Linked DNA regions of Homo sapiens: region 1 is linked to region 2. Evidence: promoter capture Hi-C in 16 types of primary human blood cells and fetal thymus (Javierre and others, 2016). All regions are on one chromosome and are shown on one strand. The core of a region is centred on a gene start or on the middle of the fragment in contact, and the rest is flanking DNA. Distances in the headings are between cores, read along the strand shown.

What was found. The method cuts DNA at HindIII sites, captures the fragments that hold promoters and counts their contacts. A CHiCAGO score of 5 or more calls a contact.
Region 1: a contact is called between a fragment that was not itself captured here and the fragment with the promoter of LATS1 in region 2, in 1 of 17 cell types (erythroblasts). The highest score is 5.3, in erythroblasts.

The regions. Positions count from the first base shown.
Region 1 is chr6:149,904,425-149,907,124 of GRCh38, forward strand. The region is part of intron 1 of RAET1E-AS1 (RAET1E antisense RNA 1); the gene reads left to right. It also overlaps the pseudogene LOC100240714. Among named protein-coding and RNA genes, the nearest start is that of RAET1E, 7.7 kb to the left of the region's middle. The HindIII fragment of the contact is 2,126 bases long and covers 194-2,319 here.
Region 2 is chr6:149,716,672-149,719,371 of GRCh38, forward strand. It overlaps LATS1 (large tumor suppressor kinase 1), which reads right to left and starts at 1,430. Exons shown (of 8, transcript NM_004690.4): 1 at 1,178-1,430. LOC645967 (a long non-coding RNA gene) reads left to right here and starts at 950. Exons shown (of 1, transcript NR_134652.1): 1 at 950-2,225. RefSeq lists a silencer at 920-1,309. The HindIII fragment of the contact is 4,826 bases long and covers 173-2,700 here.

The DNA.
Region 1 (2,700 bases), core at 7-2,506, 190 kb after region 2:
TCCAGGATGACATTCCCCCAGGTGACAGCCTACCAGGCCCGTGGAAAGCCCTGGCTAGTAACCTCACAGCTGCAGTGTGGCAAATCAAACAGAGCTGGAGTTGTCTGGTAGATCCTTGGAGCAGGTGCTGCTGCCCCACATGGACACCTTCCTGCAAGTGCATTTCGGCCCCATCTGAAAGAGCTTAAAGGAAAGCTTGCATGGCTTTTCCCCGGACATAACAAATCTGTTTCTTGATGTGGAGGCCAACACCAGGCCATCACGATGGTCCAGGATAGTGCTGTGGCCAGGGCTGACTGCCAGGAGCTTGGTGGTAAATTTGAAGCCAAGATCCAGGAAAATGCTCAGAGAGTGGGCCAGCTGTGAAAGGATGTGGAGGACTGACGGCATGCTCGGTGCTCTTCCCTGTACACTCCCTCTCTGAGGTCCAGGCTGATGTGGACACCAAATTGAAGAGGCCAAACCCAGGAGGCCCCAAGGACTAATGGCAGCTGCGTGTTGATGACGGCAGGGGCTGGGGCAAGGCCTGAACTGGAGAGCCTGCAGGCCAGGCTGGCCAACTGCAGAGGAACCTCTGGGTGCTGCACATGGACTCAGCCTGCAGGGAGGAGGAATTGCAAAACACCCCTCAGGGATATGAGGGCTACCCTGACCCGGCACGTGGATGAGATGAAGGAGCTGTGCTCCGAATTGGACGAGACCTTCCATCAGATCAGCAAAATGGAGCCAGAGATGGAGGTGAACCACAGGGCGCTCTGTGAGCTGTGTGTGGTCCTGATGAAGCCTTTAATTATGGAGGCAAACAAGGTGGAGGTGGAGTAGCAGCTCCTGGAGCTCAGCCTCACCCTGCAGCACCTGTGGGGCGACCACACTGACCTCATCAAGTATGTCAAGGAGGCAGCTGCCACAAGCTCTACTTTCACTTGGAGGCCGTCCGGGAGTGCCACGGGGACACCACGCACCCTGAAGGAGACCCAGGGGAGCCTGGATGGCGGCGCCAGCTGCACAGCTCCTAGGCTGCCCTGATGGAGGCCTGCTGGCCTCCCTCTCTGGGGAGGAGGTGATGGAGGAGAGGTCAAAGGAGGCGCACGGCCAGCTTCCCCTGCCCGTGAGCAGATCTGCCTGGCCCTGAAGGAGCAGGTGCTCGGTTGGGACTCGCTGGCTACCCGGGTGGCAGCCCTGGAGCAGGCCACGAGTGGGCCGTGGCTTGGAGCCCCCATGGCCGGCAGAGCACTTGGAGCTGGCGACCACTTGGGCCCAGAAGAAGCTGTGTGAAGCCCTGGCTGGGCTGGCTCAGGAGCTCCAGCTCCTGAGATCTGACTTCAGTGGCTCGGGTGGTGCTGCAAGGCTGCCCAGCCACCTCTCTCACCTGCCTCGGGGCCTCCATGGTCCGCCTCCGAGTGCAGCTTGGACTGCACCAGCTGCTCCTCCTTGGAAACTTCCAAGAGCTGGTGACAGCAGTGTCAGCCTAAATCTGGGGAAGCTGGAAACCGTGCCCAGCAGGAAAAGGAAGCAGAAGCAGAAAGGCCCAGAAGTTCCCCGGAAGAGGGACAGGAAAGAAGCTGAGCCTTTGCCAGACACACACATCAAAGGGCCAGTGCCAGATGCCTTGAACACTGAGCTCTGGCAGGCAGGCTCCCCTGTGGCCTTCTATGCCAGTTTCTCAGAAAGGACAGCTGCCCTGCAGACATGGAAGTTCAACACTAGCTACATCGACACTGACAGCAGCAACTTCCCTGAACATGGCTACTACCAAGCCGGAGTTTGGTGTCCCATTTGCAGTGAGCATTGAATTTGGCCCAGGGCCAGGAACCAGGCACCTGGTGTTTGGAGGGCTCCATCAGGGACCCTGGGCGGGAAGCACAGCAGCCACCTTTGCCATGGCTGAGCTGCGAAAGGGTGAGAGAGTGTGGTTGGAGTTAACCCAGGCATTGGTAACAAACAGAAACCAGCGAGGCACTGCATTTGGGGGCTTCCTGATGTTCAAGACATGAACCCTGGGCCCAGCTCTGATTGGACATCATGGACTTGCCCAGCTCTCCTTGGTCTAGGGCTCTGGCCAAGGATGGTCTGCAGATCATCCTGTTGGTCTATCTCTTCCCTGGACAGCTTCTGCGAGAGAGTGTGGTGTACGTGGTCTCTGTCTAGCGCACTGGGTTTGGCTATTTCTCAATGACAAGGGGGACTGGACTACTTCTCTGGGTGGGACCTGGTTCTGAGCTTGGTATGCCTTCTCAGACAGCACAGGCTGGACTCCAGCCCTTTGCCATACTGTGTATTCTACAGCTGCTTTGGTGGCGTGCTCCTCTTGTGGATGGAAGCTTCTGTGCAGCACTTTAACTCTTTCTCCTGCTTCCTATTCTCTTCTCCCTAATTGTTGGCTACAAAGTCATCTTTCCCAGAAGGAGTCTCTAAGATGGAGGTGACATTTGGACAGTATTGGAAAGCAGTCTCCAACGACTAGAGGACAGTGGAATAAAGCCAACCTGTTTGGTCTCTGTCAGCCAGAAATGGAGAAGAAAACCTGGTTGAGTCAACAAGAGAAAGAAAATTAGTATCTTTCGTTTCAGTTATTCCTTGTATTTATCTGTAATTTTAATTTCATATCTTTCTCTCCTTGCCATACACAGAGCAAAGGCCCAAACATGCCAAATGTGAACCAAAATGTATATGGCCTTCACCATTTTTACTTCCTCCAGT
Region 2 (2,700 bases), core at 180-2,679:
ATATTCCATCAATATTTAGGCATAGAATGTGCCATTCCAAGCATGGACCATGATCTAGTTTCTTGCAGTAGCAGCCAATTGGACTAACACAATGCTACTTCTTTTACTGTTCAATCAAATTCCTCCACTGCCTTAAGGAATCAACTACCCCATTTTACCGTCAGAGATAATAAGCTTTGTTTTCGTAGCACAGAACATTCACTCCAATTATAATGTCCTACCTTTTCTTCCTCATGGAGGAAATTTGATAAAAAATTAAGTTTATCAGAAACTTCTGATAAACTGATAAACTGATAAATTTATTAACCTTCAATAAATAATTCATAAAGTTCAAACAAGTTTCATGATCGCTAACATTCAAATCCATTTCCAAAACTGGAGTTATACAATATTACTTCTGTGCATGAGATTATACTTATTGTTCACTAGATTTATGAATAACTTCTGGAGGATGATACATGTTTTAAAAGCCGTATTAACATATGAGTTGACAAACATTAAATTTTGTTCCCTTAGAAATTGACAGAGAAGTCAGAATGGGGATAAATCAAGTCATCTGAGGCATTCATTGAGCTACAAGCTATTTCAGGTTATAAAAAACACTGTTCCCTTAATTGTCGTTCCTTCATTTGCTGTATTTATATACACACTCCTACTCCATAAAGACCTCTCCATCTCTCCCACCTCTTCCAACTATGAACAGTAACCTAAAATCACACTGAACTAGACGTAAGAGACTCCCAGGATTTCTCTAAGGTATACCCAGGATCAAGGCCCTCTGGGATCCAAAGAACTGTAGCTCTTTTACTGCAATTTTCCTTCAGAACCACCTTTCCCGTTCCTTCCCTCCTGGACACCGCCGACTCGCGTGTTGGGGGTGGGGTGGGAGACACGCCGCCAGAAAGACAGGCTCTACCCAGCCAAACCTGCACCTCCGAGGCCGAAAAGCCTGGGGCTCTTCCTGCAGCACCGGGCGCGGCCAACCCTCGCTTCCCCAGGGCAGGGCTCAGCTCGGGTCAATGCAACCAGCCAAGTCAGGCCCGGAGCGGGCCGGCTCTGCCCGCCAGTCCAAACCTCTGGACCCTCGCCAGCGGGGATGGGCGTGGGCCCCGGCGGCCACCGCCCCGCCAACTCGAGCACTGGAGGAGCGCACCCGCTACGCCAGCCCCGGACCTACCTGGAGGGGAGAGCAGAGCTCCTGGACAGCGGCCACGGGCCTGAGGGCGGACGCTGAGGCGGCCAGAGTCCGTCCCAGCAACCCCAAGTATCCCTGGTGGGGCAGAGCGGGGAGACGAACGGGGGGGCTGCCGCGGGCCAGCGCGGCCCGTCCCAGGGGTCGTGAGGACCTGGCTCTCCCCTTAACACCAGGCCACCGCCGCCGCCGCCGCCATTTTGCCTTCCACTCAGTGTCGCCGCCGCCGCACTCCGCTGCAGGTTTCCCGGATGTGGGCATTTCCCGGCGTCGCTTGCGCGGGGGCCGAGGACTGGGGGCTTTTGCCCGCCCGGCTGCTGCGAGGGAGCGCGCAGCCTGCGGCCTCCGGGCTTCGTTGCGTCGCCCGCAGCTCTGATCGTTCGTGAGCGTCGCCCCACGTCGCTCCCGCCTGCCCCTGCCCATACGACTCGCCCGCGCCCGTGGGTTAAGGCTGTCTCCCGCCCAGCCTACTTGGTTGATTCAATCCTTTTCCCCATTGATCTATTTCTCTGGACCGAGTAGGGATGTGCATTTCACGGAGCTACGTTCTCAGAAGGGAACAACTGAGTTGCTCTGGGAAACCTCCCTGTGGACCTCAGAATTCCAGATTTTTGGCGCTTTGAAATAAAATTTTATTCTTGCTTAGCGTTCTTTCCCCGAACAAGCCGGTGAGCTTCCAGCATCTGTATTTTCTGAATCCGGCAGATAAGAAATGCTTGAGCCAGGACCGATTGATTAGCAGCGGTTTAGAGATCTTATCTGTCAACCGCATCCGTAGAAGGAGATCGTTATTGCCATAATTGGAATACCGGTGACGGTGTGACAAGAGGTTTTACTTCTGGTTAAGCTGAATGTAAAGTGTGGGATGGGATCGTTGGGTTTGATGTATAAGGTACGGTCCACCCTTTGTGAAGATCGCCTTTGCCAGTTTTTCCTCTAGGAAATATACAGTTAGTGTTTTCAAGTACCTTCTTTCGTAATTTTTCTACTACAGAGTACAAAAAAATTAAAGACATCTTTTTCTGACGTTAAAGTAATAACTGGCTACTTACTGTATCTAGAAATCCAAATGTGAAAACCCGTTAAAAGATTATGTTCCGGACGGGCGCGGTGTCTCACGCCTGTAATCCCAGCACTTTGGGAGGCCGAGGCGGGCGGATCACGAGGTCAGGAGATCGAGAACATCCTGCCTAACACGGTGAAACCCCGTCTCTGCTAAAAAATCCAGAAAAATTTGCCCGGCGTGGTGGCGGGCGCCTGTAGTCCTAGCTACTCGGGAGGCTGAGGCAGGAGAATGGCAGGAACCCGGGAGGCGGAGCTTGCATTGAGCCGAGATCGCGCCACCGCACTCCAGCCTGGACGACAGAGCGAGACTCCGTCTCAAAAAAAAAAAAAAAAAAAAAAAGATTATGTTCCAAGAACATTTGGTTGAAAGTCTATTTTCTACAAGCACAGAGTTTGTAGAAGGCAATGTGACCCAAGGTGGGTCACTAAAGAGCCCCAGGGCT